Linked DNA regions of Homo sapiens: region 2 is linked to region 1. The links are contacts of gene promoters, found by promoter capture Hi-C in blood cells and fetal thymus (Javierre and others, 2016). All regions are on one chromosome and are shown on one strand. The core of a region is centred on a gene start or on the middle of the fragment in contact, and the rest is flanking DNA. Distances in the headings are between cores, read along the strand shown.

The links. Contacts are between HindIII fragments. The CHiCAGO score rates a contact against its expected background, and 5 or more counts as called.
Region 2: a contact is called between a fragment that was not itself captured here and the fragment with the promoter of TSPAN3 in region 1, in 1 of 17 cell types (monocytes). The highest score is 5.3, in monocytes.

Annotation. Positions count from the first base shown.
Region 1 is chr15:77,067,484-77,073,334 of GRCh38, reverse strand. It overlaps TSPAN3 (tetraspanin 3), which reads left to right and starts at 2,226. Exons shown (of 7, transcript NM_005724.6): 1 at 2,226-2,443. The coding sequence starts at 2,381. RefSeq lists an enhancer at 1,860-1,919 and silencers at 2,060-2,759, 5,381-5,470. The HindIII fragment of the contact is 12,417 bases long and covers 1-3,362 here.
Region 2 is chr15:76,338,051-76,343,901 of GRCh38, reverse strand. It overlaps ISL2 (ISL LIM homeobox 2), which reads right to left. Exons shown (of 6, transcript NM_145805.3): 3 at 5,388-5,650; 4 at 3,343-3,626; 5 at 2,601-2,768; 6 at 1,427-2,183. The coding sequence ends at 2,067. LOC124903532 reads left to right here and starts at 478. Exons shown (of 1, transcript XM_047433420.1): 1 at 478-1,509. The coding sequence starts at 478. The coding sequence ends at 1,122. RefSeq lists enhancers at 3,009-3,764, 3,962-4,171, 4,192-4,261, 5,809-5,851. The HindIII fragment of the contact is 7,335 bases long and covers 1-5,851 here.

The sequences.
Region 1 (5,851 bases), core at 977-3,476:
AGGTTGCAGTGAGCGGAGATTGCACCACTGCACTCCAGCCTGGGCGACAGAGCGAGACTACATCTCAACAACAAAAAAAAGTGAGTGGGAAGCAAAAGAGTCAAGGGCAGAAGTCCAGCCCCTTGCTACAAAGAGGGGCCCAGCTGCACCCCCACCACCTGGAGTCTGCATCCTCAGGTGATCTGTGCGCAAGGCAAAGTCTGAGAAGCACTGGATGAGATGACTCTTTTAGGAACTTTGGCTAAGAGAAGAAAGAAAAAGTAAAACATGGTGTTTAAGTGAGAGGCTTTTCTTTTTAGGATAGGAGAGGCATGACCATGCTTGTAAACTCAGAACTGTGGTTTGCAGCCCCAACAGCATATTCGAATCACCTGGTGTGTTTTTGAAAAACACCTGATTCCCTGAGGCTCGCCCCCAGAGAATCTGATGGAGTTTGTCTGTGTGGCCCAGATGATTGTAATGTGGGGGGGGGGGGGGTCTGAGACCCACTCAAGGAGAAGGCACAAGAAGGACTTGATGAGACCTTCACAGGGAAATGAGAAGGGACACGATGAGGATGAAGAAATGCAAAGGGGATGTTTTGGAAAAGGAGGAAAAGCACTCAGAGCAAAGCAGACAGAGAAATTTACAGAGGGCAGAGGCGTCAAGAAGATAGATGTTCAAAGGGAATCATGTTTGAGAGCCCATCATTTTTCTTTCTTTAACTAGGACCTCCATGGTATGGCAAGAATGGCACTTGAAACACTTAGATGGTGTTACTGGTCTGCTCAAAGGCTTCTGCCTGGCGTAGTAGGCTGTTGGTGATCCGGCCTCGCTCACCTCCAGCACACTAGGCTCTCTGTGTTCCCCTTCCTACAGCACAGTGATCATGTTCCGGTCTCTGGGCCTTTGTCCTTGCTGCTCTCATCTTTGGGCTGTTCCCCTCACCTCCCTTGGGTCCCCTCCAATGTTCTCTCCTCAGAGAGGACTCCTCTCATCACTCTATTCCTTTCCTCTGAATTGTTTCCTAACACTACCTCATGTCATATACCCACTTGCCCGTTTGTTTATGGTCTGCCTCCTCTGCCCGAACGAATGTAAGCCATGGAAGGAAGGATACGTCTTGCTCACAGTGGAATATCCACCACCGACAACAGTGAGGCCCAGAGGGGACACGCGGCAAGTTTGATGAGTGAATAAATGGCTGTTGCTGCTGCTTGGTGTAAATGCACAGGATGCTGAGATTAACAGGTACTTCTGAGAGTGCCTGGGAAAGGTGATGAGTGGGGGAGATTGCATGAGAGCGAGCTGATAAAGACCAGTAAATGGAAATCCTTACGGGCGCGGTCAAGGAGGGAGTGCAGGATTATAATGGCAGGAAAGACAGCAAACAGAGGCAGTTTATTGTGTGACTGATGATGTGTTTTTTGCACTAGACCACTTACTATGTGTGGCTCTGGGCGAACTTCTTAACCTTTCTAAGCCTCAATTACCCGATCAGTAAAATGAGGCTGATAACCATAGTGCCTTCCATCCAGGGTTGTGGTGGGGGTTAAATGAACTAATGGAGCCTGGCACCGGGTGAGCACCCAATAATTAATTGCTATGACGGATTCAAGATTGGGGGAAGAATGTGAAATGTTGCAATGCAAAGAGATGTTTCTGTAATCGTTGCGAATCTTGGTCCAAAACTTACTACCCTGGAATAGAACTTGTTCCCAACCACTCACCCACACAAACATGTCTCTGCCTTGCTAACGCCATCACCAGCCTTTTCTCCTCTCTGACTCTTCTGAGGTCTAGCCCAGCGCCTGGTACAATAAGTTTCTCCATAAGTATTTGTTGTTTTTCTTTGCACTTCTCACCAACAGTGCTGCCAAGATTTTAACCTGGTCAGGAGAATCTGGTCAGGCAGAGATTAGTGTCTCCAACCTTCCTAGGGGAGAATGGGCTAGGTAGAAAGATAGCACTCAGAGGGCTCTGAATCATCTATAAGGGTGGCATAGTCATAGGAGGAGAGTGGGTTTGGTCCACCAGAACCTCCCTAGGGAGCCATCTGCGTCCAAGGGCGGCCAGAGGCCAAGAAAAGGCGCTGAGGCCTTGGCTCCTTTAAGAGGCGTGGCCTCACTGCAGCCTCCGCAGAGGCGATTGGCTGAAGCTACCGGCCGCGTGGGGCGGGACTCGGTTGCCAGGGAGCGGCGCGGGAGCCCTGAGGGGACTGCGGCGGCTGCGCGGAGGAGCGAGGCACTTGCTGGGGTCGGGGCTGCGCGACGGCGCAGGGGCTGCGGGGAGCGCCGCGCAGGCCGTGCAGTTCCTAGCGAGGAGGCGCCGCCGCCATTGCCGCTCTCTCGGTGAGCGCAGCCCCGCTCTCCGGGCCGGGCCTTCGCGGGCCACCGGCGCCATGGGCCAGTGCGGCATCACCTCCTCCAAGACCGTGCTGGTCTTTCTCAACCTCATCTTCTGGGTGAGCGGGGCCGGGCAGAGCGAGGGGCCGGCGGCGGGGCCGGGCGAGGCCGCGGCGGAGGCGCCCGTGGGGGCCGGGCTTGGGCCTGGGCGGGCGCGCGGGGGCCGCGCGCGGGCCCTCAGGCGGCTGAGGCGAGGGGAGGGCCGGGTGTGAGGCCGCTTCGCGAGGTCCCTGCCGGACCAAGCCGGGAGCCTGGGCGCGGAGGACAGCGAGGGGAGGCCTTCAGGGACTCCACGGCCTCCAGCCGGCGCCTCCGCGCTCGGCCCACGCGGGCTGGCTCCGTGCCAGGCGCCCCAGTCTCCCCCCCCCGGAGTCGCCGGCTGGACGGAGAGCGCTTATTGCAGACTGTAGCAGGACGTCGGGCTCGAAATAGGATCTTCGCCAGAGGCTCAGGTTCCGCGCTCTTTGTCGGGGCCTCGCAGACGAGTGGCCGTCCCGAGGCGGGCAGATCCGCGGGGACGCTGCGGAGCCGGGGCGGGGGTTCCACTTAACGCCCTTTGTGTGTGGAGAACCGGCTGACTGTCACCAGCCCAGAAAATGAAGGGTTTCAACTCGAGGAGCCAAATAATCCATTGACCAAGAACATCGGTCTATTTGTTTTGGTCATGGGGGTGACCAAACTGTGAGATTATAACTCTTGGTTAAATATATGATGGAGATGTCACAAGATTTTGAAAGTGATGAGTTCACTTTCAATAAAAGGTGGCTTATGAATTTTTAAGGGGTACACCCTCTTTGAAAGGAATGTTTATGTCATCTTAGTTTGGGTCCTTATCTCATCAGGGACTTTTATAGTAACCTAAGTTGTTCCTATCCGTCTCTCCACCCTCCAGCCCATCTGGACTTTGCACCCGGATAAATCTTTTAAAACGTTTCCTCTATCACATCACTTGATCTGAAAATAAGGAAAACAGAAGCTTCAGCGGTAGAATAAGGTTCAACTCCTTCCCCTGGTCTTGGAGCAGAAGTCCTCAGTCTGGTCCCAAATCACCTTGCCTCTCTGAACTTGTCATTTCCTTAAACACTTGAGTGCCCTGGACAGATTGCTCTGTCCACAGTCGCCAGAGCACTCCTTGAACATTCCGGTTAACCATACTGTGCCTCTTCCTCCTCCCCATTCAGCTCCTCCCTCCCACGCATACGCACACCTGTTCTGGAAAGAATCCTTTCCTCCTCCCCCGACCCCCCAACAAGGGATAAAACTTCATATCCTGACAGCTGTCTCATAAAAGGATGGTTATATGTTAAAAAGCACTTGCTACACACTTGTATTGCCAGAGTCCTTCGGGGCGTTTGTGTGTGAAGAGTCCTAACTGGGAGGTAGTAGCTGTTGGCAAACACCCAGGCGACATTGGCATTTCCGTGATTTCTTCTTTTCCAATTAGAGCAGTGTTTCTTATACTTTAATTTGAGTTACAGGCTTATTTATTTATTTTATTTTATTTTTTCAGTTTCTTGAGTTTATTGTGAAGAATGAAATGCACATATAGAACCAGTTCCATTAGCAAAAGTCGTATCAGTCTTCTCTTTGTAGATGTGGCATGATTTGTGAATCTGACCATTATAAGGGCATCTTTTGCTAATTTAATACGTATCTATATACCTACTGCTACTTATGCATCCATAACATTTTTTATTCCATAAAGAGAAATGTATTCTACAATGATTAAGTCATTAATTCTCATAGCATCTCGTTATAAACCAGGAGTCAGCAATCTCTGGCCCAAGAGCACAAAACGGTTAGCTACCTGTTTTTCTACAACCTGAGAGCCCAGAATAATATTTACATTTCTAAATGACTGGAAAACAAATGAAAAGAAGAATACTATTTCTTGGCATGTAGAAATTATATGACGTTCTCCTACCATTCGACCCAGCAATCCCACTACTGGGTACATACCCAAAGGAATATAAATCATTCTGTTATAAAGACACTTGCACGCATATATTCACTGCAGCACCGTTCACAATAGCAAAAACATGGAACCAACCCAAATGGCCATCAGTGGTAGACTGGACAAAGAAAATGCGGCACATATACACCATGGAACACCACGCAGCCACAAAAAAGAATGAGATCATGTCCTTTACAGGGACATGGATGGAGCAGGAAGCCATCATCCTCAACAAACTGATGCAGGAACAGAAAACCAAGCACCGTGTGTTCTCACTTATTTTTTATTTATCTTTTTTAAGAGTTACAGGCTTTTTTAAAAGGAAAAATAATTTTCAGGGGTCCCCAAATGAGAAACACGTTGTCAGCTAGTAAGCTACCTAAGAGGTAAAGATGTGGCTTTGTACTCTTTACAGTTCCTTGTGAATTTATGGCCATAACTATTTGATTTTGAAGAATATTAGGTGAATTCTAGGTTATTCAAGCTCAGGGACTGGAATTGTTCATGTAACAAAATATTGGAAATACAGTAACCATTTTCTTTAAATTAGATTTTTATTTACTCTAAAATATCAGTTCTAAGTGACTCCTCTGAATCTTTGGATATTGTGTAAATATATGTACTGTTATTCCAGTGAAGAAAGTTATTTTGAACTTCAGTGGTGCTTTTCATAGCGGGTTATTGCCAAGACTGAAGTGGTAATGTTTAGTAAAAATATGCTTTATCTTGGTTAGTAGGGTAGTAAAGTTTTTGTGAGCTGTGATAAGGAAGTTAAGCAGATACGCTGGGGGCAAATGTGTCACAGTGCAATGTAGCTAATGAGGAAACAGCATTAGGTATGTCTCCCAAGAAAGTATTAGTTTGTGGACTAACTGTGGGAATCTGATGATGATGGGTAATGGCAACTAACATTTGAGTTACTATACCCCAGGCACTGTGCTAAACACTTTACATGGCATATCCTCACAGCTTTCCCATCTAGCAGGGAATATTAGGTACATTTTAGAGGAGAACATTAAGGTTGACTGAGCCAAAGTAGCACACCCAAGGTGTGATACAGCCTGCGTTCAAACCCAGGTTGTCCCATACTCTAGAGACTGTGATGTTAGGACAAAGTGTGATTTCAGAAGATTTGTAAAGAGAAGAAAGTTGTTAGAATCACTTCTCTAAAGCATGCTGATTTTGAGATTGCTAAAATTAGAAACTGTACCAGAATTTACATGACACTTTGTTTGGTTTTGAATTAAGTCATTATGAGGAAGTACATTAAAAAATGTTAAAAGGTTCTTCCTGGGAATTTGTAATGCATTCTTCAGTTCTAATAAATGTATTCTTATATGCTGGCCCCTCCCTCCTTTTAATGCCTTGAGATGATGAATAAGTGGAAGAATAAACATACTCTCCATAGAGCTTATCAAATGTTTACCTAGGTTCCCTTGGGCAACTGTAGGCAATAAAAACTATGTTGCATTGGCTCTTCACTGTCAGATGGTAATGGCTGATTGTTAACAAG
Region 2 (5,851 bases), core at 1,702-4,201, 730 kb after region 1:
GCAAGTGGGGTGGGGGCAGTGTGAAGGAATTCTGCTAAAAGCGCTGCTGAAAAACCCACAGTGGCCTTTGGCCATCCAAGCAGCCATGGCTAACAGAAGGCACCTACTTTTCTATCTGAAGACTACAGGGCCCCCCAGACACGTTTTCCTTGCCAGCCCCTACCTAAGCTAAGATGGCAACTATCCCCTACCCAGTTAGGGCGTTGCCCACTTTCAAAACAAACCTTGGACAAAGAAGGATATGCTTGTGGGTCGCTTAACTCGAGGGACAGGGAAACGACAACTCAACGCCAGATGTTCTTACAACAGCGGTGGACTAACTGGTAGTCGGGAAGCTCCCTCAGTCCACTAAGTGAAGGCTGGTCTTGGAAAAGAACTGTCCCAGGCTGCCAAAGGGTTAAATATTTGTAAAGAGTAAAACCTGAGCCTCCGTGGGTTTTTTTTCTTTCTTTCTTTTGGGGTTTTTTGTTTTTGTGTATGCGCGGTTGCCCGGAGGCCTACTGGAGATTCAGTATCTCTCGGTTATTTCCTGCGATCACTAAAGCCAGTTTTCAAGAAAACAAGTCGCAGGGGTTTGAAATGTCACACCAAGTGACCTGGGCACGGCATATCCAGGGGCCATTCCCAGCTCCCTCCCACCCGGGCCACCCCCGACCCCCTCCACTTCGGTCTGGAAAGAAAATAAACCAAGGACACGCCAGACTGGTTCTGGGTGGACTTATTTTCCCGGCAGCCGCGCTCCTAGCGGGGGCTCGTTGCGGCCCCTCGGTGTATCGCTTGCAGGTGATGCCAAACGCAGATAAGCAGCCGCCGCCCGGCCCCCGCCTCTGTCTAGACTGTGGAATTAATAAATGCCGCGGATTGATCACGTCGCGCATCCACTCCGGGGACAGCGCGGGGCACGGCCCGTCACGGCCGCCCGCTCTGGCCGGGGTTGGCCTCACTGCTGTGCTGCAGGGCCAGGGGCAGCGCGCGGGGCTTCGAGCCTCACCCAGGGCCGCGGACCGCTGGGGAAGGAAGCGCCGGGAGGGCCCGCGGCGCCGAGCGAGAGTGGGGCTCGGGGCTCGGCAGGCGCCAGGCCAAGGCTGGTTCCGGGAGCGGGGCGCGCCCTCGCCCGCATAACCCTAGGCCGGAGTCCGCCGCTCAACCGCCACAAGTGCCGCAGGTTTCCCGCCCAAACGGGTCCCGCCTCCTGCCCGCGGGCCTGGGCCGCCAGGTGCCCAGGGGTCGCCAATGGGGCGCTCCTGCTTCTGGGAGGGCCCTCAGCGCGCATGCGCCCAGCCCCACCCCCTCGGCCGCGCCCAATCCCCACCGGGCCCGCCCCGCCCGCAGCACGCGGAGCCCCGGCAGCCGACGCCAGCCTGACCCCTGAACTGGCCTCCGCCGGCCCTCCCGCCGCGCCAACAGCACAGAGGAGTGGCGTCGCCCCGGGTTATTATTTTTTATTAAGATCAAAATACAAGTCCCACTATGAACTGGCTGTTCTCACAATAAATAACAATAACTTACGTTTGTTTGTTCGGCAAAGGCTCACATACTCTGTCCTCCGTCGAATAACTTAAACACTTTCAAGGCAAGTCTGGTTTCTACTGTTTCCCAGCAATCATGCGCTTTGGGAGTTTGAGTGTCTGTTCCTCTGAGTTATCCCCTTCCTTTTCCCCGCTAGGAGCCCGGGCGAAGCCGCCAGGGAGCGCTGAGCTGGGGCAGGGCGGGGGTCCGCGTGGGCGAGCTCCGGGCCGGCCGAGATGGGGACACAGGTGGGGCGTGGAGAGACAGAGCGGCGGCCACGTAGAGAGGAGAGGAGAGGGCAGAGCTAACCCTGGTAAGTCCCAGATTCTGGTTTTGAAAAACTAAGAGTCCTCGGAGCAGGGGTCTGCAGTCTGGTGAAAGCAGGTTGCATCCTGGCGCCTTGGGCTGTCCAGACCGTGTCTCTCGGTACTCTCTCATAAATAACAATAGAATAATTACGAAGGCGAGAGAGCTTTCGGAACTGGAATGGCCTGAGCATGGGTGAGTCTCATGCAGGGAGCATGCGAGGTCCGCGGGCTGGCAGGGAGGGGTCCCCCTCACGTCTCCACGGGACTCGGCACCATACTGTTGGGGGTGTCCGGGAGCTGCGAGGACAGGGAGGTCACGTCGCTGCCGGAGGAGTTGCCTAGGGAGCCGGACTCGGAGAAGGAGACCTGGGGCGGCGGAAACACCGGGAAGAGGCAGGTGAAGAGGCACGCGAGCTGGTGCTCCAGGGCCGCGTGCTCCGAGTCGGAAAGTGTCCCTTGGGGACCGGCCGCCAGCTGAGAGCAAGCCCTGCGGAGAAGGAGGCCAGGTCCCCAGGCGCACGAGGGGGGGATTAGGGCGGGGGAGCGGGTTGGTTAATCCTGCGACCTCTCTTGTGAGCACTTTAATCCAGGGAGACCTGGTTTAGGGCGCGTAATGGGCCGAGGTGAGGTTTCAGAGCCCGCCACTGTTCCCCCTCCCCCACCGCCTAGGGCTGTACCCAGCCCCTCAGCCCAAGGCCACCCCCTCCCCTCTCTGCCAGGCTAAGTGGCTAAATCCCCAACCCGCAGAGTCCCGAGGTCGGGGCGGGTAGGGCAGGGCCTCACCAGCTGTTGGAAGGCGGGTTGGTCCAGGTCGCTCTGGAGGGCAAACTCGCTGAGCGCCTTCCACGGCGGCTGGTACGTCTGCACCTCCACTGCGCTGCCCTGCACGGCGTTCTCATGGCGGATGGGACTGCCCGCCACCAGGGGCGTCCCAGTCAGTCCCTGAAGGCTCTGCGGGGCAAGCAGAAGGCAGTAGGTGCTCGAGTTAGGTCTGGCCTTTTCTGCCACCTTTGAGACTGGAGCTCCAGGCCTTGAGTGATTTAGGGTCTGCATTGCTTTGCGGGGAGGCGCACACTCGATCGCATCGGAAGAGCCCTCTTTCTCCACTGGGGATCTGCGGGGGCCGCAAACTTGCCACGATAGGTCAGCCTCGGTGCTGGAAGCCAACCGCCCGGTGAGGAAAGGCAAGACCTGCACTCCCACCTTTCTGCAGCTGCCGACGGAGTGCACAACCCACCAGCCCGACTGGCGGGCGCTGCACACTGCCATGCAGCCTTGGGCTCCGCGCAGCGCCCGGAACCCGCAACGCGGGGCTGCCACTGGGACAAGGAGAAACCCCGATCCCAGACAAAATAGGAAGCCTCAAATCCAAGGGAAGCCTTGCTGTGAAGGTACAGACATACACCATCTGGAGCGCCCAGTTCTCCCTGGATCTCCCAGGGCTCGCCCAGAAAAGGGCACGCAGATACCGCGGCGGAAGCGCAGCCCCCACCCGACTCGAGCCTCCGGCCCAGCGGCTGCTCACCGTCTTGTCGCTGTGCTGCTGCTGCTGCAGCTGCTTCATGAGAATGGATTTCTTCTTGTCCTTGCAGCGCTTGTTCTGGAACCAGACGCGGATGACCCGCGGGCTCAGGCCGGTCATCTCCACCAGCTGCTCCTTCATGAGAGCGTCGGGCCGCGGGTTGGCGGCGTAGCAGGTCCGCAGAGTGTGCAGCTGCTTCTCGTTCAGCACAGTCCGCACGCGGGTCGTCTTCTCCGTCTGCTTGTGCACGTGCGGGCGCAACGCGGGCTGCCGGCCCGACCCAGCGTCTGCCAGGACAGGGTGAGGCCAGAGGTTAGCGAGGGGCCGCCACCCACCCGCCCCGAGCCCAACCTCCGGGTGGCCCAGCCCCCCGGGGCCCGATTTCGTTTCTGTTTTATTCTGTTTGTTTCGTTTAATTGTTCGTCTTCCTCTCCATCTGTTCGCCTTACTCGGAGAGAGCTGTGCATTTTCGTTCTTTCTCTCGCTCCCGGGCCGGACTGCCCCGCAGCGATCTCTCCCGAGCTCAAGCAGGGCGCGGGAGCTCGGCGACAGGCCGCTGCGGGGAGGGAGTGGCTGCTCAGGGATGTGCCTCCTCCAGTCGCAGGACCCTCGGAACGAGCGAAGCCCTCCGGAAGAAGTCGGAGTTTCAGAGGAAGAGGAAAGAGGCTTGCCCAGGACTCTGGAGAGGGAAAGGGACCGACGTGGACCCAGGGCGAGGCGCTGCCCAGGGGACTGGGTGGGAGGTGCGAATATGCCGGGGGCCTACGAGGGCCCTTCCCCTCCTTCAGAGCCCATTTGGACAGGGCCAGGCCACATGTGTAGAAGACTCATCCACGGTTATGGACGGGCCTCCAGGGCTTGCAACAGTTCCTTCCTGCCCGCCCTTGGGCTTCGGCCCCTGTCTCCTTCCTCAAGGCTCCAGGTTCCCCAGCCCAGTGGCCTCCCACCGACCAAGGTGCTGAGCAGCCGCTGGCACTCTCCTCGCTTGGCCCCAGGTTCTCTCCATCCCGGGGAAACAGTGACTGATTCCAGAGCCTGCACCCTGAAGCCCGAAACAAACAAAGGGGAGCCTCTCCGAGATCCCAGATGGGGGTGCACTGAATACCCGCTTGCTCCCATTTCACATCTCCATTTGATCCCGACCCATATATACCGTGGATCTGTACTGCACCATTTCGGTTTATGTTCCCCTCTACGAATTTCTAGGTCTGGACAAATATTTACAAATAGCCCATCCAGCCCAGTTTCCTCTTTCTATAGGGAGGAAGTGAAGATCCAGAGAGGGGAGGAGCGGGGCAAGGCCACACAGCACCCAGAGGCCCAGCCTGGTCTACGGATCTGTGCTGCAGGCCTATGGCTACCTGGGGGAAACTGCCTTGCCTGGGGTGGAGGCACCTCTGTTTCTGTTCAGCCGTACCTGCCCATTATACACTCAGACCCCATCTCTGGGCAGCTGCTGATTAGGACCCAGAATATTCCAGTGACAGTCCACTATGCATTGATACTCCCCCTCCCCCAGAAGAACCTGGCTAAATTGTTCATCAAACTGGGCCTCAAAACAAGATGGCAAAAACCCCTCTTTGTTGGGTTCTTGGCTCCTGGCTGACCAAGCTCCTGCCCAGCTCCCAGTTTGGAGCTGTGTTACTTACACACATACCCCTGGGCAAACCTTACCCTCTGACAATAACACATATTCCTCCAAGAAATTCCTAATACAAGCCCCAAGACGGACACCACTTAAGATTCCCTGTTGTCATCCACTCTTCTGCTCCTAGCACTGTGCCCTGCATGTTCCTGGTCATGGAGAACACGATTCTGCACAATTCTCCGTGCTCACACACTCATACACACGCAGTTTCTCCCGAGCACACGAGAATACACACAGCCTTGTTCCCAGCACACAGTTCCGCACTGATACAGAAAAACACTATCCCGGCAGACGGAACCACACACAACTGACAACTTCTCGTTAGGGACACAAGCGTACCCCTACACACACGCACGCACATACACCCCGCTCACCCCGGCACAGGCCCCGGCGCGCTTACCGGGCAGATGCAGGCCGCGGGCGCCGGGAAGCGGGCCGGGGCTGCGCGGGCTGCCGGCCGCGGCGCGCTCGAGCAGGAGGCCGTGGTCGGCGCGGCAGAGCAGCTCGTGCTCCCGCAGCGAGAACTCGTCCCCAGGCAGCAGCTGGCGGCTGCACACGGAGCAGCGGAAGCACTCGATGTGGTACACGCTGTCCCGCGCCCTCATCACCAGGTCGCTGCTGCTGAAGCCCACCTGGCACTTGGCGCACTTGATGCCGAACAGCCTGCGGGCCCAAGGTGCGGCGGTGTCAGCGCTGGGCCTGCGGCCGCCCTCATCTCCCTGGCTGCTACGGCTCCGGCGCGCGCCCAGGACACTTTGTGGCCACCAGGAGACTGCGGTGACCCGCCTGCGGGCATTCCCGGGCCCGGGGGAGCGCTGCGGCACCCGTGCGGGATGCGGATGGCCTTCTCCCTGGGCAGGGCCG